Regions from separate parts of the Homo sapiens genome. Here regions 2, 3, 4, 5, 6 and 7 are each linked to region 1. Evidence: promoter capture Hi-C in 16 types of primary human blood cells and fetal thymus (Javierre and others, 2016). All regions are on one chromosome and are shown on one strand. Each heading gives the region's core, a stretch centred on a gene start or on the middle of the fragment in contact. The rest is flanking DNA. Distances are from core to core; before and after follow the strand shown. Region 1 holds the start of DMRT1 (doublesex and mab-3 related transcription factor 1). Region 2 overlaps DOCK8 (dedicator of cytokinesis 8). Region 3 holds the start of DOCK8-AS2 (DOCK8 antisense RNA 2). Region 4 has its middle 13 kb from the start of KANK1. Region 5 overlaps KANK1 (KN motif and ankyrin repeat domains 1). Region 6 overlaps KANK1 (KN motif and ankyrin repeat domains 1). Region 7 overlaps KANK1 (KN motif and ankyrin repeat domains 1).

Region 1 (3,446 bases), core at 947-3,446:
GCGGGTGGATCACGAGGTCAGGAGATCGAGACCATCCCGGCTAACATGTTGAAACCCGGTCTCTACTAAAAGTACAAACAATTAGCCGGGCATGGTGGCAGGCGCCTGTAGTCTCAGCTACTTGGGAGGCTGAGGCAGGAGAATGGCGTGAACCCGGTAGGCGGAGCTTGCAGTGAGCTGAGATCGCGCCACTGCACTCCAGCCTGGGTGACAGTGCGAGACTCCATTTCAAAAAAAAAAAAAAATTTGGCGTGGTAGCACATGCTTCTAGTCCCAGCTACTTGGAAGGCTGAGGCAGGAGGATCCCTTTAGCCCAGAAACTGGAGGCTACAGTGAGCTATGACTGTGCCACTGCACTCTAGCCCAGGCAACAGAGCAAGACTCTATCTCTAAAAATTAAATAAATAAAATATAAATCTGGAAAAAGAACATAAATATTGGATAACAGCAATTGACATGCGTGTTTTAATGGAAGATTGTTTTAATGGAAGATTTAAGTGGTTATCATTTATAAGTTTCCAGGATGGAATAGATTGTTGCATCCTAGCTCCTGTCAGGAGTAGAGCTTCACTGGTTTCACAGGTAGGGTATGAGGTGCTGTGTAAAGCTAGAAGCTTCTTTTGGAAGTAATTTTCAGACAGAGAATACTAATGGAGAAATTTCAGACTGAGGGAAAGGGCCTGTGAGAGAGGCCTCAGAATTAGAGCTCCAAAGGCAGATTCGAGGATTTCAGAACTCAGTGCTGAAAACACCAAACTGCTGAAAGAGGTGGCCACAGTACAACCATTTTGATGAGAAGTTGAACAGGGTGACCATGCCTCTTTGGAGAAATAATCCCCTAGGTCTGGAGGCGGCCCAGGATCCTGAAGGTGAGTACCAGTGCTGGTGGAAAATAAGGAGCATTCAAAGTGCATTAAGAGCCACTCCGGGGTCTTTAACTTGTTAACATGGAAAACAATAGCAAAGTACTGCTGGGGCCCCCTGCTGTGTGTATAGAATATACCGGAAGACTAAGACATGGAGATAGCAGCTGGGAGCTACCGCAGAGATTCAGACTTGAGGTGAAGGGCTGGCCTTAGGGGGGCACGTGGGTGTGTAGGAAGAACTGCTCAGCAGGCCTTAGGGATACATTTGTTGTGCAGGTGCAGAGAGGACACAGGCATGGCTGGGGCGGGAGTTCAGGATGAGAACCCTGGGACAGGCTGTAAGATGATCGAGCCAGGGGTGTGTGTGTGTGTGTGTGTGTGTGTGTGTGTGTGTGTGTGTGTAGAGGTATAATGACATACTGTAAAATGCAAGATATGAAGTGTAGAATGAGTTTTGATACATTTCTACATCTGTGTAACCACCCCCCACAACCTCAGTTTTTTTTAATACATATGTTTCTTTTTAAGTTTGAGTTTCCCGTGCCTGCAGAGTCTAAGTTTAAACAGCCTCACAGACAAGAAGCTATATGCACCTGAAGTGAACGGGAACACGGGCTGCAACAGTAGATCGTAAAGTTATTTGGAGCGAAGGAGGTAGAAGTGTTGTGAGCAAATGAAGACAGGTGCAGGAAGGGATAAACGGAGAACAGAAAGTTCCAACCTTTGAGATTTTTGAAGTGCTTGTGCCCCAACACTGAGGATCTTCTTTGCCGTATATAGGGCAACTCTGATTTACCCTATAAATTTCTCAGGCCTTCCACCTCATATTTAATTCTCTTAAGCGAGAAAAAAAATTTTTTTCTGACTTGGCTGCTGCCAAGGTCGGCTCTATCAAATCTGGTGCGTCTCTCTGGGGGAAAGGGAGCTAGAAGACCCCATAGGGTGGTTTGCACCTCCTCTAAGCATGCAAGCACGGCTCTGGTCTTGACCTGGGGAGCCCAGCTTCCTCGGTGCACCGTGCTTTGGCAACCGGGTCTTGGCGCCTCCGAGAGCGGGGCGAGGGGTGCCACGCGATTCCCAGGCCGCTCTGTATCTCTCGGTGCGCTTGCAGGGACCCTGCAGCAAAGCCCTGGATGCTTGCAGCCGGTGCAAGTTTGCAAGCAGCTGGAGAGCGGTGGCTGGAGTCGGGGGGCGGTGGGCGTGGCCACGCTCCCTCCCAGGCAGTCCCGGGAATGTTCTGAAAAGTATCCGAAAGTTCTGAGTCGCGCGCGCGCCAAAAGAAAAGGCACAACCCCCCACCACTCCGGGCGTGGCGTGCCCAGACCTCGCCACTCCAGCTGCGCCTCCGGCTGCAGCGCACACGTCTCCTGCGCCTCCTCCTCCGGAGCGTCGCTGTCCGTCGGGTTCATCCCTCGCAGCAGTCTCCAGGCGAGAGAGGGGGCCAGAGTGCTCGCACTTCTCCTAGGGGCACCATGCCCAACGACGAGGCATTCAGCAAGCCCTCTACACCGTCGGAAGCCCCTCACGCCCCCGGGGTACCGCCGCAGGGCAGAGCCGGGGGCTTTGGCAAAGCGTCTGGGGCGCTAGTGGGGGCGGCCAGCGGCTCGAGCGCCGGGGGCAGCAGCAGAGGAGGCGGCTCCGGCTCCGGGGCGTCGGACCTGGGTGCCGGGAGCAAGAAGTCCCCGCGGCTGCCCAAGTGCGCACGCTGCAGGAACCACGGCTACGCCTCGCCGCTCAAGGGCCACAAGCGCTTCTGCATGTGGCGCGACTGCCAGTGCAAGAAGTGCAACCTGATCGCCGAGAGGCAGCGCGTGATGGCCGCGCAGGTGGGTGCGGGCGTGCGGGAGCCCGGGTTCAGCCTTAGTTTTTTTTTTTTTTTTTTTTTTTAGATGGAGTCTCGCTCGGTTGCCCAGGCTGCAGTGTAGTGGCGCGATCTTGGCTCACTGCAACCTCCGCTTCCCGGGTTCAAGCAATTCTCCTGCCTCAGCCTCCCAAGTAGCTGGGACTACAGGCGCACACCACCATGCCCGGCTAATTTTTGTATTTTTAGTAGAGACGGGGGTTTCACCATATTGGTCAGGCCGGTCTCGAGCTCCTGACCTCAGGTGATCCACCCGCCTCGGCCTCCCAAAGTGCTGGGATTACAGGCGTGGGCCACCGCTCCCGGCGGGGCCCGAGTTTCTTGAATGAAGTCCCCCCAGCATGGCCGTTGCCATGCGGGTCCTGGGTTGTGGAGAGATGCGGCGGTACTTGCCGACAGCGGCGGCGCTTGGGGTCCTGGGCTCCCGGCCACGCTACATCGCCGGTCTGGGAGCGCCGGAGACGCGTCTGATCCCGCCCGCCGGGCAGAGTTGCGGGCTTCGCTCGGCTCGGGGTTCCCCACGATCTCTCACCCTGTGTTTCGGCGGAGTTGCGGGGGTTCCCTCTGCTCCCGGGTCCCTGAGATCCCTGATCCCGCTCTCAGGGCAGGGAATTCCGGGGTTCGCCCCTCTGGGCTTCCCCGCGATCCCAGAGCCCGCGTTCCAACAGAATTGGGAGGGTTTATTGCGCTAGAGGAGTCTTCAGGATCTTCGCTCCCGC
Region 2 (3,446 bases), core at 504-3,003, 440 kb before region 1:
TGTTCATAGAATGATAAAACAAATGTAGCAAAATGTCAAGTATTGATAAGCTTCGTTAAAGGGTATACAGTAGTTCTTTGTACTATTCTTGCACCTTTTCTGTAAGTTTAAAATTGTTTCAGAATAAAAGCTAAAACATATATAAAATGGAATAAATCAAATGTTTAAAAGGCAGCTACAAAAATCTTAGGAAGCAATGTTTATTATTAATCGCTTTGTCGTTATTGAGAATGTGCATAGTACCAAGTGCTCAGGAGATTTTCATTCGGTTATTCCTCATGGCAAACTTTGTTGGAACAGCATGGTATCTCCACATTGGCAGGTGTGAGAATAAGGCACAGTGAGGTTGATAAATTTTCCAAAAGTCACACACAGCCAGCAGTAAAGCCAAGACTGGAGATTTTAGACCCAGATACTGAGTCACGTAAGGCACCCAGGAGGAGTGGCCATGTGGAGAATGCGGAGAGAGTTCGAGGACCTCTCAGCGGCACGGTAGCAACCTCTTTATCAGGTCCCCATCCATCCCAGTGACTTGACTGGTCAGCATGGCCTGAATTTGCAAATTGCATGTTAACAAAAGCAAAATAGTTTCAAACCATATTTTTAATAGTGTCAAAGGAAATTGATTTGTCATTCTGAGAATAAAGGACATAAACATGAAAAACTGAATCCCAGATTGCTCTGAAGCACTGTAAAATCCCTCATAAACAGGAGCACTGAGAAATAATACAAATTAAAAATTTTAAAAATAGGCGTAGCTTATTAATTGGGATTCATGGAGGAATTTACCCTACGGAGTGAATACACCCTGCGGAGTATGACTCTGACCTCTCTTAGGCTGGAAATGCTGCCTAATTGAGGAATAAATTTCTTAGGTAAAAACTAATTCTTTTATCCTGATTGGATTTTCTGTAATAATCCTTAAAAATTAAGAAACTGTCTCATTGAAAACAGTAAGTATTTTTCAAGTCAGTTTGCCAAAAAAAAAGAAAATAGTTACAAAAAAAAAAGTTACCAGGATATAAAAAAAAGTAGGATCCAACATAGTATATAGAGAATGAGGTTAATTATACACATATAAATATGCATGTAGAAAAAAAAGTGACTGGAAGGAAATGCACCTAAATATTAACAGTGCACGAATAATTACTTGATTCAACCTCACAGTCATGGCTTTAGTTAAAGGAGACTCAACTACTTCGCCCAGTGCCACCCAGAAGGACAGTGGCTGAAATAATAGGACCTGTCTCTCCCAATGTTCCCACCAGTGACCTGGAAGTTCAAATCCAGAGTGTCCCACAAAATGATTTGGGTGTTTGTTTGTTTTTAAGGAAAATGAACAGGCGGAAAAGATGAACATCAGCCTGGCTTTCTTCTTGTATGACCTTCTCTCCCTCATGGATCGGGGCTTTGTGTTTAACCTCATCAGACATTATTGCAGCCAGGTGAGTGTCCCCCCCACCCCCACCCCCGAGCGAGCCACTTGGTTCCTTCTCATATAATGTGATGTTCGTTGCCATGGCACGCTGTCTTCTTCATTACTGAGTTGGCATGAATCCTACACATCCTGTGTTTTGCAGCACGTCCCTCATGTCTGTGCCATGGACATTCCTCAGACATGCTGGTTTACCTTGATTCCTGGAGCATTTACCGACAGTGTAGAAGGGTCAACAGATTCATCTGTGGGAATTAAAATTTGTGATATGATCTGAATCTTCAATTTGACATTCAACAGAAAATTAACATGGCTATACAGTGCTTTCAGTCTTTGACAAGTCCTTGCGCTCCCAGTCTGAGGTCTCTTTTCACATATTAGGGTAATTAATTAAATTGCTGTTGTGATGCTCCGACTTGAAAGAACCTTTTTAAAGTGTTCTTAAATAAAATCATTCAAAGAGATTTAATTTCACTGAGCACATAGCAAATATTTCATAAACCAAGTGCATCTATCAGTGCCATCCCCCCAGATTTTTAAATGGAATTATTCATGTGCTGTCTCCCTCAAACTACCTTAACAATAGTAATATAAATAGCAGTTATTGTTGCTGCTCCTCTCCTTCCATATCCCTAATCTAGCCACTAGTACCATCATTACTGCTACTACTACCACCAGCCACCACCATTCTCATTAGTCCCATGCCCACTATCACCACCTTCTCCACCATCACCACCTCCCACCACCTCCACCACCTCCACCATCACCACCACCTCCACCATCACCACCACCACCTCCACCATCACCACCTCCTTCACCATCACCATCACCACCACCTCCACCATCACCACCACCACCTCCACCACCACCAGCATCTTCACCATCACCACCACCTCCACCATCACCACCACCACCACCTCCACCATCACCACCTCCTTCACCATCACCATCACCACCACCTCCACTATCACCACCACCTCCACCATCACCACCACCTCCACCATCACCACCACCTCCACCATCACCACCACTTCCTTCACCACCACCACCATCTTCACCGTCACCACCACCTCCACCACCACCACCTCCTCCACCACCACCACCTCCTCCACCATCACCACCTCCTTCACCATCACCATCACCACCACCTCCACCATCACCACCACCACCTCCACCATCACCACCACCTCCACCACCACCAGCATCTTCACCATCACCACCACCCACCTCCTTCACCATCACCACCACCTCCACCATCACCACCACCACCTCCACCATCACCACCACCTCCACCACCACCAGCATCTTCACCATCACCACCACCACCTCCACCATCACCACCACCTCCACCATCACCACCACCACCTCCACCACCATCACCACCACCTCCACCATCACCACCACCTCCACCACCACCAGCATCTTCACCATCACCACCACCTCCACCACCACCACCACCTCCACCATCACCACCACCACCTCCACCACCACCAGCATCTTCACCATCACCACCACCTCCACCACCACCACCACCTCCACCATCACCACCACCTCCACCATCACCACCACCTCCACCATCACCATCACCACCACCTCCACCATCACCACCTCCTCCACCATCACCACCACCTCCACCACCACCACCTCCCCCACTACCAACAGCTCCTTCACCATCACCACAACATCCACCACCACCATCACCACCACCACCACCACCTCCTCCACCATCACCACCTCCTCCACCACCACCACCATTAGCTCCACCATGACCACCTCCTTCACCTCCACCATCACTTCTTCCACCATCATCATTGTCACCATCATCACCACCACCACCTCCACCACCATCACCACCTCTCCCATCACCACCACGTTCTCTGTGGTTAGTCACTTAGTGACTTTAGATAAGTTTTTCCAATTTTATGGGTCTTAATTTCCTCAGTTTTAAAATAAGAAGGGGGGGTTGAGAGATTTGAGGGCTGATCAACGAAAAGGATAGGACCATAAAAAG
Region 3 (3,446 bases), core at 540-3,039, 370 kb before region 1:
TACAAAAATTACCTAGGTATGGTGGTGCCTGCCTGTAGTCTCAGCTACTTGGGGGGCTGAGGCATGAATCCAGGAGTTCAAGGCTACAGTGAGCTATGATTGTGTCACTGCACTCCAGCCTGGGCAACAGAGTGAGACCCTGTCTCAAAAACCAAAACAAACAAAAAAGAAAGCAAAAACTAAATTTCTGATAATCACTAAGTTTTTAATTATGAAATTACTAGAGGAAATGCAGCATCACCTTGGTTGAAAACCATTTGGAGAGCCGTGCACATTCCTGATCCCTAAGTCCTTGATGTTGCACCCATCTTGAGGAGCAGTGCTCTCTCTGGACCGATGTTACTGAATCCAACCCAGTTCCTACTTGATGTTTGTGGCATTAGCTTGGCAGCTAGTTTTTACGTTTACTATTTTTACTACATATTAGGAGATGGCAAATTACTGATAGCCAGGATAAGGGAATGATTTTCAAGGCATTATAGCTCTAAAAAACAATTGAGAAATCAGCTCCCTCATCACTTCCTTAATGCAATGAGAGAACACGACACGGATGAACAAACTGTTCTGTTATCCAACAAGATTATCAAGAGTTATTAGTGAGATAATAAAAAAGTATATGTGACTGCCAAAAGTCTCCAGACTAAGGACCAGAAGACCTGGTTTCTTGTTCTTTCACTTTCTAGTCCTGCAATTCTGGCGAAGATACTATACTGCTCTGAGCTTCAGGGTTTTTTTCACTGTGAAAGAGGGTGCAAGTTCCTCCACATTCTTCCAATCTACTGAGGAAACCCAATGAGATAATGCATGGGAACATGTTTTGGAAACTCAAAAGTGCTGCCCAAAATGTAAGGTAACACTGTTTACAATTGACACTTCCAGAAAGTTTAGCCAGCACCCCCACACATGGCATCCGCTTCTGACAACGTTAATCAAAATCAGGCCAAAGGTGCAGGCAGGACAGAGGCCTGACTTACCAGAAAATAAACGTCTGGTCTATTCCACTTGTAGTGCCAGTTTACATTGTCTGGCGAGAGCCAACTACCAGGGCCTCCGGGTAGAAGAAAGAAAGGGTATCAGTGGAACTGAGAGTGTATACAGTGGCGCCTGAAAGCGGGTAGAAGAAAGAAAGGGTATCAGTGGAACTGAGAGTGTATACAGTGGCGCCTGAAAGCGGGTAGAAGAAAGAAAGGGTATCAGTGGAACTGAGAGTGTATACAGTGGCGCCTGAAAGCGGGTAGAAGAAAGAAAGGGTATCAGTGGAACTGAGAGTGTATACAGTGGCGCCTGAAAACCCAACCTCGCCAGGCTTCCCTGTCTCCTGTGTGCAGCATGTGTGCAGTGCATTCCCCTGGAAGGTAAATTCGCGGAGTCCCGCAGCCCACCTGTGTCCACCTAGCCTGTAAGTGCCCCCTGAGGGTATCAAAGCACGCGGACTTCCGCCTGAAGCAAAGCCACCGGGCGGCAAGTTTCCCCGTTAACAACAACGAAGACAGAGAGGACTTGGCAGCTGTGACGGATCTGCAATAATTAAACTGACGTTGCTGTTTAGAAGCCTGGGGGTCGCCTGCAGCCTCCCAGGCTCCACTCCATCGGCTCCAGCGCTGCAGGCGGGCCGTGCATGTCTCTAGATGCATATTAAGCAAAAAGTTTCTAAAGAGGATCGCGTGGAACCCAGCAATTGATTAAGAATCTCAATGGCCCTAATCCCCTGAGAATTGAACTAAGGGCTCCCCAGCAAACACAGCGATTTACATGGGGCCTAGAGAGAGCGAGCACTGCCGGGGGCGGCGGCGAAGGGCAGCAGTGGTGGGACGGGCGGGGTAGGGGGAGTTACTGAGCATGCGCCCGGGTAGGGGCGTGGGGGAGTTACTGAGCATGCGCCCAGGTAGGGGCGTGGGGGAGTTACTGAGCATGCGCCCGGGTAGGGGCGTGGGGGAGTTACTGAGCATGCGCCCGAGGGTGTTTCGGGGCGTCCGAAGCGGGCGTGCTCCAGCCTGCTCAGCAGCGAGTGGTTGGAAATTAGCAAAGTGAGAGGGTGCGTGGCCTGAGGGACTCGGGGAGGCTGAGGGCTTTTTTTCTCAACACTGTGAAGCTCAGGGAAAGGAGTAGAACTGGGAACCAAGTAAAGTAAAATCGTGGCAAGTGGGCATAGACCTGAAATCTCCTTCGTGAGGGAACCCAGAACGTGCAGCTCAATGTATGTTTGGAACGAACAGGTGAAAGGAAGCAGGAGGAGGAGGGAGTTCTAGCGAAGACTTCGGAGGGAAGCAACCCATCCCCTGCCACAAGAAAGCACCGCCACTCCAGTGGGAACGGACACGCGTGCACACAGCCACGAGTGAGGTTTGAAAGAGGCCCCACCCTCCATTACACCTGTGCTCCACCGTGGCCCCCAGCCAAGTTTAATCTCCCATTCAGCACTTACTTCTGGAAGCTTCTTTCCCTTTCCTTCCCACCACTCATTGGCCTTTCACCCCCTAGTTTTTTGTCTGTGTGTGGGACTGTCTTCCCCCACTCCCCTTGACTGAAGTTCCTTGAGAGCAGCAGCCCTCTTTTTATCAGGGAAGAGATTTGAAGCTCAGGACATTCTTATCCAAGTAGGTGCTAGCCACCTGGGTAGTCAAGACAGGGCCCTGCACAGTTAATGTGAATCTTGTCATAATGCCAGGGTTATTGTTTTGCAAGGAGCCGGTCATAGAACACTAGATTGCATTGTCACTGGGAAATAAGCTCATTCTATTAGCTTGTTTCTCAGCTAGCTTATGTAGAAATTTGCCACAGTTGTTACTGCTGGGCACCTGCCCTGGATCTGATCATCAATTATATCATCTCTTCCATCTGATGGACTGCACCTCACCCCTTGCTTTTTCAGAGCTGGCGAAGCTGGGCCAAGGAAAGCGATAGTGCCAGCTGAGTGGAATGTGCAGGAAGGGACCGAGGAGGGGCACTATGTACTGGAGAAAAGAGATGGGGTCTCCAGGACAGGGGTAAGGACACTAGACTGAGGGCACAAAGGAAGGAAACCACAAGGAAGTAGAGTAGGGAAGTGGGGAGCATGCTGAGGAGAGAGGTCAAGAGATGGTGACCGCTCTCTGCATGCCCCAAGGAGATGGTGATGACACTCCCAAGTCCATGTGGGACTCCCTCCTTATGCGGGCCTCAGTCTGTCATCTTCCTTGGAGCAGGACCAAAGTAAATAAGATAAAGTCACAATTTCTCATCCTTCTTCACTCAACTTTTCTTTGAGGTGAGTTGGCATTTTTGTAAAAGAATGCATTCTCTGCCAGATGCGGTGGCTCACCCCTGCAATCCCAGGGTTCTGGGAGGCCAAAGTGGGAGGCTTGATTGAGGCCAGGGGTTCGAAACCTAGGCAACATAGCAAGACCTCCATCTCTGTAAAAGAAATTAGCCAGGCATGGTGGTGCATACTTGTAGTCCTAGCTACT
Region 4 (3,446 bases), core at 699-3,198, 350 kb before region 1:
ACTGCACTCCAGCCTGAGAACAGAGCAAGACCTTGTCTCAAACTAATAATAATAATAATAACAATAGGCAAACATAGCAGTAAACATAAAATGTTCATTTAAAAAATTATCTCCAGAAAGATCTATTTGGACAAAATCTTTAGATAATTTCATTATCAAATTTAAAAAGAGATGGCTGGAAAATAAATTGCCAAAGTTTCAACTGAGCAACTCTGATATTGGCAAAAATACGTTAAGCTCCCTATGTTTACTTCATTGCTCATTCAACACATATTTATTGTTGAGCACATATTATATACCAGACAGTGTGGTAAGTGCCAGGGACTATGAGTAAACAGAACAAAATTCTTGCTCTTGTGGAGCTTATATTCTGACACAGGAAAACAAATATAAACATAATAAATGAATTAATTAGAATATAGATGGCAATAAGTGCTACGAAAAAAGATGAGGAGAACAAAGATGAGACTATGTGAAGGGCTAAAGTGGCTTTTTTTTTTTTTTTTTTTGAGACAGGGTCTCATTCTGTTGCCTAGGCTGGCGTGCAGTGGTACAACCATGGCTCACTGCAGCCTCAAACTCTTGGGTTCAAGGGATCCTCCTGCCTCAGTCTCCCAAGCACCTAGGACCACAGGCATGTGTTACCATGCCCCATCTAATTTTTAAACATTTTGTAGAGATGTGCTCTTGCCATGTTTTCCAGGCTGGTCTTGAGCTCTTGGGCTCAAGTAATCCTCCTACCTCGGCCTCCCAAAGTGCTGGAATTACACATGTAAACCACCGTGCCCACTCCTGGAGTGCATTTTCTTTTTTTTTTTTAGACAGAGTCTTGCTCTGTCACCAGGCTGGTGTGCAGTGGCATGATCTCAGCTCACTGCAACCTCCGCCTCCCGGGTTCAAGCAATTCTCCTGCCTCAGCCTCCTGAGTAGCTGGGACTACAGGTGTGCATCACCACGCCCAGCTAATTTTTGTATTTTTTAGTAGAGATGGGATTTCACCATGTTGCCCAGGATGCTCTCAATGTCTTGACCTCGTGATCCACCCTCCTCGGCCCCCCAAAGTGCTGGGATTACAGGTGTGAGCCACTGTGCCCGGCCTGGAGTGCAATTTTAAATAGCATGGTGATAGTGGGCCTCTCTGGGGAGGTGACATTTGTGGACAGGAGAGAAAGAAGGAGCATGCTGATTTGGGGCGAGAAAAGGGAAACGTCAAACACAAATCACCTAAAGCAGGAGTGATATGGTTTGGCTGTGTCCCCACCCAAATCTCATCTTGAATTATAACTCCTACAATTCCCACATTTCGTGGAAGGAACCCGGTGGGAGGTAATCAAATCACGGGAGTGGGTCTTTCCCATGCTGTTCTTGTGATAGTGATTAAGTCTCACAAGATCTGATGGTTTTCAAAATGGGAGTTTCCCTACACAAGCCCTCTCTTTGCCTGGTGCCATCCAAGTAAGACGTGAGTTACTTCTCCTTGCCTTCCGCCATGATTTTGAGGCCTCCACAGCTACATGGAACTGTAAGTCTATTGAACTTCTTTCTTTTGTAAATTACCCAATCTTGGGTATGTCTTTATCAACAGTGTGAAAACAGACTAATGCAAGGAACATACCTGGAGTGTTCCAGGAACAGCCAGGAGGCAACGTGGCTGGACAGGAGACAGGGAAGAGGAGAGTAGTAGGAGAAAAGACAGAGTCATTATTGTCATCATAATTGTGACAGAACTCCACAAACCTAACTTCCAGTTTTGAGTCTTAGTTTATTTACTCTGTGACTGTAGGGAAATCCTTAACTGCTTAAATAGAATGATAGTACTTAACTTGCAAAGCATCGATAGTTAGAGATTTATTTCACAAAACTGACTAGAGAGAATCAGTATAGCTTAGCCATGCTGTCGGTACTTACGTGGATAGCTCTGGGTTTATATGCTGATTTACTTACTAGATGTGTGTCCTTGGGCAGGTTACTTAAACCTCTCTGTGCTTCAGGTTTCCTTTCTGTAAAATGAGGCAACTAATAAATGCATCCTTTAGAGCTGTTAAGGGTTGCCTGGACAACTGTGAGGCTGTCTGTGAGAGACAGTCTCACATCACATGCTTAACATAGTGATTGGCATATAGAAAGTACTAAGTAAATATCATTATTTATTATTATTTGAAAAGTTTAAGATTAAATATATTGAAATATGCATTTAAATGTATATTTGAAATATATATTTAATAACCAAAACATGCTTTTGAGAAAAAATATCTTATTGTTATTAATAGTTGTGGCCAGGTGCGGTGTCATATGCCTATAATCCCAGCACTTTGGGAGGCCGAGGCGGGTGGATCACCTGAGGTCGGGAATTCGAGACCAGCCTGACCAACATGGAGAAATCCTGTCTCTACTAAAAATACAAAATTAGCCGGGCGTGGTGACCCTTACCTGTAATCCCAGCTACTCGGGAGGCTGAGGCAGGAGAATCACTTGAACTCAGGAGGCAGAGGTTGCGGTGAGCTGAGATCGTGCCATTGCACTCCAGCCTGGGCGGTCAACAAGAACAAAACTCCGTCTCAAAAAAAAAAAAAAAAAGAAAAGAAAACCAGCTGTGGCCTGGTAGCCGGCCTCCCTGTCTCTGAATATTCACATCCTTGTACAGTCCCTTCCCATATTGTACCAGGGTTGGTTTGTGCGACCATAGAATATGGCAGAAGTGATGGTATGTCACTTCTGAGATTCGGTTATAAAAGACATTGCAGCCACCATCTTGGTCATTCTTTTTGTCTTTCTCTCCATCCCCACTTGGTCTGGAGAAAACCAGCTGCCATGTCATGGGACAGTTCACGTGACAAACCTTTTGCCAGCAACCATGTGAGTTGCTGAGCCTCCTTAGAAGAGTGAAGAAGCCTTCTCAGAAGTGGATCCACCAGCCCTGGTCAAGGTTTCAAATGACAGAAGCCCCCAGTGACATTCTGATTGCAACCTTATCAGAGACTGTGAGCCAGAACCATCCAGTGAAGCAGCTCACTGGATGGTTCTCAGGAACTATGTGAAATGATAAACATTTATAGTCTCATGCTGCTAGTTTTGGGGTAATTTGCTTTTTTTTTTTTTTTTTTGGAGATGGAGTCTAGCTCTGTCTGGAGTGCAGTGGGGTGATCTCGGCTCACTGCAACCTCTACCTCCCAGGCTCAAGCAATTCTCCTGCCTCAGCCTCCCATGTAGCTGGGATTACAGCTACACACCACCACGCCTGGCTAATTTTTGTATTTTAGTAGAGACAGGGTTTCACCATGTCGGCCAGGCTGGTCTTGAACTCCTGACCTCAGGTGATCTGCCCACCTCAGCCTCCCAAAATGCTGGGATTACAGGCATGAGCCACCGCGCCTGGCCGGCAATTTATGTAGCAATAAATACTAATAGTTTACATACATTTTTTTTTCTTTTGAGATGGAGTCTTG
Region 5 (3,446 bases), core at 374-2,873, 330 kb before region 1:
TTTTGAGATGGAGTCTCGATCTGTTGCCAGGCTGGAGTGCAGTGGCGCGATCTCAGCTCACTGCAACCTCCGCCTCCTGGGTTCAAGCGATTCTCGTGCCTCAGCCTCCCGAGTAGCTGGGACTACAGGCACCGTGTCACCACACCCAGCTAATTTTTGTATTTTTAGTAGAGACAGGGTTTCACTATGTTGGCCAGGATGGTCTCAATCTCTTGACATCGTGATGTGCCCACCTCGGCCTCTCAAAGTGTCAGGATTACAGGTGTGAGCCACCATGCCAGTTTTTGTATTTTTAGTAGAGACGGGGTTTCACCGTGTTGGTCAGGCTGGTCTCCAACTCCTGACCTTGTGATCCGCCCACCTCAGCCTCCCAAAGTGCTGAGGGATTACAGGCATGCGCCCCCACACTTGGCTAATTTTTGTATTTTTGTTAGAGACGGGGGTTTTACCATGTTGGCCAGGCTGGTCTTGAACTCGTGACGTCAGGTTATCCATCCGCCTCTGCCTCCCAAAGTGTTGGGATTACAGGTGTGAGACACCCTGCTCAGCCTTTTTTTTTTTTTTTTTTTTTTTTTTTTTTTTTTGAGATGGAGTTTCTTTCTTGTTGCCCAGGCTGGAGTGCATTGGGGTGATCTCAGCTCACTGCAACCTCTGCCTCCCGGGTTCAAGCGATTCTCTGCCTCAGCCTCCTGAGTAGCTGGGATTGCAGGCATCTGCCACCATGCCCGGCTAATTTTGTATGTTTAGTAGAAACGGGGTTTCTCCATGTTGGTCAGGCTGGTCTCGAACTCCCGACCTCAGGTGATCCGCCTGCCTTGGCCTCCCAAAGTGCTGGCATTACAGGCGTGAGCCACTGTGCCCAGCCTGTAGCTATACATCTTAAGAGTACATCTTCACAAATTGTCACAAAGTGAACATAAACATATAACAAGTACTCACGGAAAGAACCAAAATATTGCCAGCATTGCAGAAGTGCCCCTATACTCTTGTCCAATCACTGCCCCTCCCGAAGAGTAACCGTTGTGCCAACTGTGGATTAGTTTTATCTGTTTTCATGCTCTACACAGACTCACACGGTATATAGCTTTTAGTATCCTGGTTTCTTTCTCAACATTATATTTGTGAGATTCAGCTGTGTTGTTGCTTGTGGCTGTAGTTCAGTTATTTTCACTGCTGTGTAATATTCAATTGTATGACTACAATTTATCAATTTTTAGGTTTGAGGGGCATTTACATAGTTTCCAGTTTCTTACATGGTAAGTAGTGTGACTATGAACATTCTAATTCTAGTACACGTCTTGATACACAATATCCAATACAAATGTGTACATTTGTACAAATTCTATTCAGAAGTAGAATTTCCCAGTTCCAAACTAGGATTCAGTTTAGAGGTACAGTCATGCGGATTTCTGAAGTGGTTGTAGAGTTTATACTTCTACCCGTAGTGTGAGAGAGTTCTGTTGTGTCCTTTTTAAATTGGAAGAGCAGTAGATCTGCAGAGTTTGGCAAATGGACAAAATATGACCTATTTATTATTTTTTTTTTGGAGGCGGAGTCTTGCTCTGTCACCAGGATGAGTGCAGTGGCGCGATCTTGACTCACTGGAACCTCTGCCTCCTGAGTTCAAGCAATTCTCCTGCCTCAGCCTCCCGATTAGCTGGAACTACAGGCACACGCCACCACGCCCAGCTAATTTTTGTACTTTTAGTAGACACGGGGTTTCACCATGTTGGCCGGGATGGTCTCCATCTCCTGACCTCGTGATCCACCCACCTCGGCCTCCCAAAGTGCTGTGATTACAGGCGTGAGCCACTGGCCCAATATGACCTATATTTACCCCATCCTAGCAGACTAATTATTTGTTGTCTTCACTTCCAGTGCTTTTCCATGTCTGTTCATGTTTTTATGAAGTCACAATTCTAATATTCAATTTTGTATTTTGTTTCTTAACACAGTATCTTAATATTGCTTCAGTCTCTGACTTTTTAATCCCTGCATATGCCTAAGGATATGCTTTCATTTAATAATCCTCTTATTAGAAATGTGTGTTAATTTCTGGTGTTTTACTAGTACATACCGTTGTGGAAATCATCTTTGTGCATATAGTTTTTACCTCCCTCTTGGGTATTTCATAAATTTGAGATTTTTGTTTATGTGGCTTGGGATCTTTGTTAAACTGCTGCCTGCAGAGTTATCCTTGAACCTAATATGGAATTGATTAAAGAAATCTTTTTTATTTTTTTGAGACAGGATATCATTGTGTCACCCAGGCTGGAGTGCAGTGACAGGATCAGAGCTCGCTGTAACCGTGAACTGCTGGGCCCAAGCAATCCTCCCGCCTCAGCCTGCCTCCCGAGTAGCTGGGACTACAGGCATGTGCCACTGCACTCAGCTAATTTTTCCTTTTTTTTTTTTTTAGTTGTAGAGATGGGGTCTTGCTAGGTTGTCCAGGCGGGTCTCAAACTCCTGGCCTCAAACAATCCTCCCTCCTTGCCCTCCTAAAAGTGCTGGGATTACAGGTGTGAGCCACTGCACCCAGTCTAAGAAATCTTTAAATTGCTAATATGTTACCTGCAAAAGGGTGTCTCATTGGGTTAAATTGCAATTCTGAAAATAATGGTGAGGTTGACCATGATAACTTCTTTAAAAATAGCATAAATTGAACCTTTGTGGCAATTTCATTTAGGTATCACTGATTAATTTTCTTTATATGGTCCTGTTTACAAAGGTATTGAGCCAAGAGCTTGAAAGGATATAAGAAGGATCATACCATTAAGTAGTTGATTGTCCAGAAATTATATCTAATAATTAAAAATACCAGTTAGGCAAAATTCTTACACATGACCAAGGAGTGTTCATTCTACAAATGCAGTGCTTGTTTAAGTTCTGAGGGAGAAGTCTTTCTTGTCTAGATGATTAGGAGCTGCTTCCCCCAAAAGTAAGACTTGAGCTCAGCTTTAAGGAGTCTCTAGAAATTGGCTAGGGAGCAGACATCACTAAAGAGACACTGAGCCTTCTCAAGGAGAGAGATCAGCGGTGCATAGGGAGAGCCCCGGTTGACCACTGGACAGTGGGGTTGGTGATGCTGGCTTCCTTACTATTCTTTTTCTGGAAGATACCGAAAATAAATGAACTAATATATAGGCCGAAAAAAGTACTTGGAGGATTTTGGGAGAAAGCTGTTTGGTACATTCAAGTCAGCATCATGGGGTTTAATGGTAAACACCTGCCAGAGATTAGAATGCAGTAGGCTGCTTTTTTGCCTAATTATAGATCTTAACTCCTTTCCCCTCAGGTAAAATTCAGTGATAATTTCTCTAAGATGAAGGCTGCTAGACCAGCCTTCATTCAGAATAAGCCAATATCACTTAACTTTAGTAAACAGTACTTAAATTTGTATTATGTGCAAGGCCCTGGTGGGGGAAATCAGAGACTAGAAAGCTAAG
Region 6 (3,446 bases), core at 476-2,975, 280 kb before region 1:
TTATCTTGGTTAATTTTCTTTTTTTAATTAACGAGCATGCATTGCTTATATAAAACTTTTCTCTGTATGTGTCTGTATCTGATGCAGTTAGAAGTTCAATGTGAGTTTAGTGATTCCCAGGGAAGACTTAGGGAACCTTGGTTTCTGAGTTGTGCTCTCCTCTGACTACGTGGTGAGTCTTAGTCTCTGGAGTCAGCCAGATCCAGATCTTAGTCTCATGGAGTTAGCCATGATCATTTTAAACTTATAATTATTAAAGTGCTATGATGTACAAAGGTGCTTATGAAACTAAAATTTGAGGAATTAGATACAATGACTATGCGGTTTTGCTTTTTAGTAACTGTTTCTCATTACTTCATTGATCCAAAGTGAGATTTTTAAAGCTAAAGTCCTTGTTCCATTAAGATAATTCTGTCATTTGTCCAGTTACTCTCCTTACTCAAATTGCTAGCCCCTTTGGTACTTTTCTCTCTAGCTCTTGCCCTGCTTCATGATGTTCCTGAATAGTTTTAGTTTTCTTTGTTTATTTTTCCACTTTCTTGGGCCAGACCTCCAATTTAATTCTTTTAGTTGAATGAGCTGCTTTCTCGCTTGTTACAGACTCACTTAGGGCTCATTCCTCCCTGCCTTAGTCCCAGTATGGTCTCAGTAATGACATGCAGTATGGGGACTTTGGACTCCTGTTTGAACAAACCAGCTTTGAGATGATAAAAATTTGAATATGAATTGAGTTCTTGAAGATAAGAAATTGTTAATTTTGTTAGGTTTGTTAATGGCATGGTAGTTACTCTAAAAACAAATTTCTGGGCGAGTGTAGTGGCTCATGCCTGCAATCCTAGTACTTTGAGAGGCCAAGGCAGGAGGATCACATGAGCCTGAGAGGTTGAGCCTGCAGTGAGATGAAATTGCGCCAGTGCACTTCAGCCTGTGTGACAGAGCAAGACCATGTCTCAAAAGGAAAAAAAAAAAAAAAAAAAATTTATTCATTAGTTATAAATGCACACTGATGTTCTTATAAGTGAAAAGATATATTGTTTTGGTTTTGCTTTAAGATTCCAGCAAATATAAAACAGAAAAAGAGGGAATATATTAAAAAGGCTGGCAAAATATGTATCATTGTTGAAGCTTAGTGATGGGTGCATTGTATTCAATATAGTATTCTCTTTTGTGTATATTTGAAGTTTTTCATGATAGAAGGTTTAAAAATTTAGAACAAAAATGAATGTGGAGGTTCAGGATCCTACCAGATGTTTCTAAATGAACTTTAAGTGACAATGGGGAAAAATGTCCATATCATCCTGGAGTTTAAGGCAGGGAATTCTTGGTAGGGGGCTATTGAAAAATAGCCAAACTGTTAGTCAAAAATGTACATATGATCTCATGGCCACAGATAGTAATGTAGAAGACAGATCACGAAAGTACTAATCCTTGGGTGAGGAAGAACAGGAGAAGGCAGCCCAAGAACTTAACTGAGGCCCCAAGAACTAAGGAAATCTGTTTTGTAAAAGGACCTGTACGGCCAGGTGTGGTGGCTGACACCTGTAATCCCAGCACTTTGGGAGGCTGAGGTGGGAGGACTGTGTGAGCCCAGAAGTTTGAGGCCAGCCTGGGCTGGTTTAATTAAATTAGCTGGGCATGGTGGCACACGCCTGTGGTCTCAGCGACTTGGGCGGCTGAGGTAGAAGGATTGTTTGAGCCTGGGTGGTTGAGGCTACAGTGAGCTATGATCGCGCCACTGCATTCCATCCTGGGTGACAGAGCAAGACTCTCTCAAAAAACAAACAAACAAACCTATACGAACAATGGTAGGAATGTCAAGGAACCCAGGAGTGAAGATCGGATTAGTCAGATGCTGTGAGAGGAGGTGGAAAAAACCAGTGTAGAATGGGCAGGCACCTTTGAAAAGGCTAGAGGAAAATTTTGGAAGGGCATTAAGGAGGAGCATAGCAAAGAAGTCTAGACCTATGACTTGGAGCTGTTCTGTTATATAAATAGGATATCCAGAGATAGCAAACTGCTCACTGCAGGAAATAGGGGAAATAGAGGATAATTTGGAAGAACACCCCACTGTTATTATTTGTGGCAGTTATGTTCTATAAAGTCGCTGTGGACATAATTAGTGAATACTGAGCCATTGCTCCTAGGGGAACAATACAGAGTTAGATTCCTGTGAGCCTCTGGTTATAACGATTTTGTCAGCTGTCAACCGATCAATACATAGCCTTGTTTTGCATGTGTTTCTGTTTAAAGATACCTTGTTTAATATACATTGTTGATTCATTAACATTGACCTCATGGCGAAGAGCACTGTATCTCATGCCTAAATGAAGCTTAGCCAATGCGTCTCTTCTTCCTAAGGCACATCATGGCCTTGTTGTGATTAAGAACATTAGACGACACTAAGGCATGATGTTTGGGGCTCATTTTAAACAGCAAAATCACCAAGAAACCCACAAAAATGAAAAAAAAAAGCCCTAAAAACTAGCCACAAAAGGGACATTTGTTAATAGTATAAGGGCTAGAACAAAGAGTGTAGGCTGGTTTTTTGGCTTCAGCTGGGTACATGTATGTGGAGTGACTCAAATATTTTGGTGTGTACTTGCTTCAGTGGCACATATACTAAAATTGGAATGATACGGAGAAGATTAGTATGGCCCCTGTGCAAGGATGACACAAATTCGTGAAGCGTTCCTTAATAAAAAAAGAAAAAAAAATTTTGGTTCTCTCCACCTGTGCGCAAATGACCATGAGCATTAGTCTTGGGGTTATAAATAAGTTTTAGTAGATGAATTTGCAAATGTGGAATCCGTGAATAATAAGGATGTACTGTATTTTTTCATCTTTATTTCTTAATTAACAACTGTGATCTGTATTTTAAATGAGCCTTTTTGGGGGAGCTTGATAGGCATTGAGTGTTTTTCCCAAAGATTTGTCACCTTCTTGTGAGTTGTCTAGTCTGTTCTTTTGGTTTTATAGATTTATTCTAAACTAAAAGTTAATGGTAGTTGCCATTTATAATTTCTTGCAGAGGTTTTTGCAGAGATCATCCATTTAATATTTTTGTGCATTGAAGGTTTTAATTGTACAGTCAACACTGTCATTCACTTGTGATTTTCATTTTTTCCAAGCTTAGAAAACTTGAAGGATGATGACTTTTTTATTGGAGAGGTTAAAAAAAAAAAGTAGGTAAAAGTGATGGATGCTTAGGCTGAGGGTGGTGACTGAATATGTGGTACTTGAAATTGAGTTTGAGTGTCCAGGCCTGGTTTCATTATATCTTGGGACACTTAAAAAAGTCTTGCAGAGGCAATCTGCTTGAAAATGCTGTATAAACCTTAAACCTCTAAATTGTAAAATGTAAGTGCATAATAATTTCTGATTTGTAGACTTCTGTTGACAATCTTTCAAGACGGGAGAAGGGTGAAAAAGACGGAAAAGACAAACAG
Region 7 (3,446 bases), core at 667-3,166, 260 kb before region 1:
TCTCAAAAAAAAAAAAAAAAGAAAAAAAATATTTTTTCTTTTTTTAAGTGTATATATTTTTTAAGTTGAAACCTGTGTTTGCCTTGTCTTTATGCCCACAGGGGAACTTGAAGTCATTTTACATATCAAAAGCATCTTCTCAGGTTATTCTGAATTTTGAGAAGGCTAACATTTGCTAGGCTTTATGTTTAAAAAAACAAAAACAGAAAAAGATCCTGGGCTTCTCCCATCTTGCTTGGCAAATGAGGAGTCTAGGGTACTTGTCTTAAATGTTCTGACATATTTCAATTAAAGCAGTGAACAATATTCTCAAAGACAAGGCAGCAGCTGATACTTGGTAATGTCCTTAAAACTGCATAGTAATAACCTTCAGTGAGATTTGTATAATTTGGAGATAAGCTCCACTTATATCTGTAAAGTTAAAGCACAGAGAAAGTTAGTACAGTATTTGCCTGAGGTCAGTCACGCAGTTGGTGACAAAAGCCACTATTCTTAGTACTTCATGAGACTTCTGTTTTATATAATAGATTACAGAGGCCAGGCACAGTGGCTCTTGCCTGTAATTCCAGCACTTTGGGAGACTGAGCTGGGAGGATCATTTGAGCCCAGGAGTTTGAGACCAGCTTGGGCAACATAGCAAGACCCTGTCTCTACAGGGAAAAAAAAAAAAAAAAAGCCAGGAATGGTGATGCACACCTGTGTTCCAGCTGCTCAGGAGACTGAGGTGGGAGGATTGCTTGAGCCTGGGAGGTTGAGGCTGCAGTTAGCCATGATCATGTCACTGCACTCCAGCCTGGGCAACAGAGCAAGACCCTGTCTCAAAAAAAATTAATTACAGAGATAGTGTTCTAGTTAATAGCAAGGAAAGAATGGCTTAAGCAATAAGCTTGGCCGGGCACAGTGGCTCATGCCTGTAATCCCAGCACTTTGGGAGGCCAAGGCGGGCCCGATCACTTGAGGTCAGGAGTTCAAGACCAGCCTGGTCAACATGGTGAAATCCTGTCTCTATTAAAAATACAAAAATTAGTCAGATGTAGTGGTGTATGCCTATAATCCCAGCCACTTGAGAGGCTGAGGCAGGAAGATCGCTTGAACCCAGTATGTGGAGGTTACAGTGAGCTGAGATTGTGCCACTGGACTCCAGCGTAGGCAACAGAGTGCAACTGCATCTCAAAACAAAAAACAATAAGTTTAATGAATGATTCCCAAAGTATGGTCTATGGACCAGCATCATTCACATCATCTGGGAACTTATTAGAAATTTTAAATTTTTAGGCCCTATCAGACCTACTGCTTACTCTGAAGGTGGGAGTCTAGGAATCTGTGTTTTTACAAAGCCCTCCACATACTTCTGATTCATGATAAAGTTTCAGTACCACTAGCTTCATACCATCCTTTTATAATTTTATGAGTTTAAATGCTCAGGGCTGCTGAGATAACATACCCTTGGGTCCTGAGTGTATACAAGGTAAGAAGCAGCTGGCAGCCTCCTTGAAGGCCCAGCATAGACAACCTTACTGGCCTCCCTTTTAATATACAGATAGGTAAGAAAGCAGAAGAGGAACCAATATTTGCTCTGCTAGGCACTGTGCCTATCTTTCCCACAGTTCCCTTGCATTTAGCCCTCATGCCAATCATATGCTTGTCATAGTGTGCTCCTTATATGTTTTGGGTACTTCATCATTTTCTAGTTGTAATCTCAGTCTTGAGAGCAGGCTCAGACGTTTGCTTCGATTCTTTCACTGGCAATCACGGAGACTTGACATTGTTTCATTTAGGGGACTGTACATTTCCTCATGGGGCATGCAGTTTGTGTTGGAGATACAGAAAGCTTCATCTTGAACTTGGTGCTTCTTCCTGGAACAGTAATTTTATTTCAGGTTTGTGGGAGAGGAAGAGGAGGGACCTTGTTTTTTTTTTGCAAACCATGACATTCCCTGTACGTACCATGTACCTGGTGCATGATAAATAACTGTTAAATAGATTTCTATACTATTAACAGAAAGCTTGTATTGTGTCCGGAATTGGTTCCTTCAGGTGGTTTCTTGGTCTCACTGACTTCAAGAATGAAGCCATAGACCCTCACGGTGAGTGTTACAGTTCTTAAAGATGGTGTGTCCGGAGTTTGTTCCTTCAGATGTTCAGATGAGTCCTTAGTTTCTTCCTTCCAGTGGGTTCATGGCCTCGCTGACTTGAGGAGTGAATCTGCAGACCTTTGCAGTGTTACAGGTCATGAAGGTAGTGCAGACCCAAAGACTGAGCAGCAGCAAGATTTATTGTGAAGAGCGAAAGAACAAAGCTTCCACAGCATGGAAGGGAACCCAAGCGGGTTGCCTCTGCTGGCTCTGGTGGCCAGATTTTATTCCCTTATTTGGCCCCGCCCACGTCCTGCTGATTGGTCCATTTTACAGAGTGCTGATTGGCCCATTTTACAGAGAGCTGATTGATCCATTTTACAGAGTGCTGATTGGTGTGTTATTACAGAGTGCTGATTGGTGCATTTACAAACCTTTAGCTAGACACAGAGTGCTGACTGGTGTGTTTACAAACCTTTAGACACAGAGCGCTGATTGGTGCGTTTTTACAGAGTGCTGATTGGCGCGCTTACAAACCTTTAGCTAGACACAGAGTGCTAATTGGTGTGTTTACAATCCTTTAACTAGACAGAAAAGTTCTCCAAGTCCGCACCCGACCCAGAAGCTCAGCCGGCTTCACCTCTCAGTATCATCTCCCAGATAGCTTGTGCCCACCCTTCAGACTTCTTTGTTTAAGGCAGTTATTCTCAAAATGTCCCTTGACCAGAAACAGCATCACTTGGAAACTTGGTAGAAGTACACATTCTCAAGTTCCACCCCAAACCTCTTGAATCAGAAATTCTGAGGGTAGGGCCCAGGAATTTATGTTTCAACAAGTCTTGCAGGTGATTTTGATTTATGCTAGCATTTGAGAACCACTGGCTTTACGCATGAGAAGTAGGATTTTAAAATTGTACTTTTTATTATAATTTTCTGGGAAAGTAAAGCTGTTTCACCTGTAAACTTTGGGAATAGGAGCACCCTGAAGCTCACAATGGCATCCTGCAAAGCCCCAAAGAGTGCTAGTTGTTGATCATTACCTGTGCACACATCATTCCCTCACTCAGAGCCCAGCTAGGAGGCCTCCTTTCACCTTGTAACCAGGTCACCCCTAGATGTGATCACTTCCTCCACAAGAACTGAGAGAGAAGAGAAGAACACCAGAGGATACTGAACTGGCCATACTGGGGCTTATGGTTTAAAGGGCAGAACTGAGCCAAATGAGGACTCCTCAGAAAATTGCTTTCTCGTTGGATCACCCCAGAAATAAATCAGTAAAAGCATTCACCTTTTGTTTTATTTGCTTCAAACAAAGTAGGAAACATTCTTCTTGCTTTATATATCTAGATACCAAGTAAGGAAGTATGATTT

What was found. The method cuts DNA at HindIII sites, captures the fragments that hold promoters and counts their contacts. A CHiCAGO score of 5 or more calls a contact.
Region 2: a fragment that was not itself captured here is called in contact with the fragment with the promoter of DMRT1 in region 1 in 1 of 17 cell types (endothelial precursors); the score reaches 5.3 in endothelial precursors.
Region 3: the fragment with the promoter of DOCK8-AS2 here is called in contact with the fragment with the promoter of DMRT1 in region 1 in 5 of 17 cell types (endothelial precursors, M1 macrophages, megakaryocytes and 2 more); the score reaches 10.2 in endothelial precursors.
Region 4: a contact is called between a fragment that was not itself captured here and the fragment with the promoter of DMRT1 in region 1, in 2 of 17 cell types (M2 macrophages and M0 macrophages). The highest score is 5.5, in M2 macrophages.
Region 5: a fragment that was not itself captured here is called in contact with the fragment with the promoter of DMRT1 in region 1 in 1 of 17 cell types (M2 macrophages); the score reaches 6.0 in M2 macrophages.
Region 6: a fragment that was not itself captured here is called in contact with the fragment with the promoter of DMRT1 in region 1 in 5 of 17 cell types (M0 macrophages, M2 macrophages, megakaryocytes and 2 more); the score reaches 7.5 in M0 macrophages.
Region 7: a fragment that was not itself captured here is called in contact with the fragment with the promoter of DMRT1 in region 1 in 4 of 17 cell types (M1 macrophages, monocytes, M0 macrophages and 1 more); the score reaches 8.0 in M1 macrophages.

Annotation. Positions count from the first base shown.
Region 1 is chr9:839,501-842,946 of GRCh38, forward strand. DMRT1 (doublesex and mab-3 related transcription factor 1) reads left to right here and starts at 2,197. Exons shown (of 5, transcript NM_021951.3): 1 at 2,197-2,692. The coding sequence starts at 2,339. The HindIII fragment of the contact is 3,804 bases long and covers 613-3,446 here.
Region 2 is chr9:397,815-401,260 of GRCh38, forward strand. DOCK8 (dedicator of cytokinesis 8) reads left to right here. Exons shown (of 48, transcript NM_203447.4): 26 at 1,332-1,445. Among named protein-coding and RNA genes, the nearest start is that of DOCK8-AS2, 71 kb to the right of the region's middle. The HindIII fragment of the contact is 3,410 bases long and covers 49-3,446 here.
Region 3 is chr9:468,340-471,785 of GRCh38, forward strand. DOCK8-AS2 (DOCK8 antisense RNA 2) reads right to left here and starts at 1,790. Exons shown (of 2, transcript XR_002956871.2): 1 at 975-1,790. It also overlaps a transcript of KANK1 not described here. RefSeq lists enhancers at 618-667, 908-1,007, 1,540-2,065, 1,568-1,717 and a silencer at 1,828-1,877. The HindIII fragment of the contact is 2,947 bases long and covers 1-2,432 here.
Region 4 is chr9:490,469-493,914 of GRCh38, forward strand. It overlaps a transcript of KANK1 not described here. Among named protein-coding and RNA genes, the nearest start is that of KANK1, 13 kb to the right of the region's middle. The HindIII fragment of the contact is 5,391 bases long and covers 1-3,446 here.
Region 5 is chr9:507,572-511,017 of GRCh38, forward strand. All of the region lies in intron 1 of KANK1 (KN motif and ankyrin repeat domains 1), which reads left to right. Among named protein-coding and RNA genes, the nearest start is that of KANK1, 4.6 kb to the left of the region's middle. The HindIII fragment of the contact is 6,814 bases long and covers 1-3,446 here.
Region 6 is chr9:556,231-559,676 of GRCh38, forward strand. The region is part of intron 1 of KANK1 (KN motif and ankyrin repeat domains 1); the gene reads left to right. It also overlaps the pseudogene RNU6-1327P. Among named protein-coding and RNA genes, the nearest start is that of KANK1, 53 kb to the left of the region's middle. RefSeq lists an enhancer at 1,573-2,124. The HindIII fragment of the contact is 1,205 bases long and covers 1,124-2,328 here.
Region 7 is chr9:574,851-578,296 of GRCh38, forward strand. The region is part of intron 1 of KANK1 (KN motif and ankyrin repeat domains 1); the gene reads left to right. Among named protein-coding and RNA genes, the nearest start is that of KANK1, 72 kb to the left of the region's middle. RefSeq lists an enhancer at 1-420. The HindIII fragment of the contact is 175 bases long and covers 1,830-2,004 here.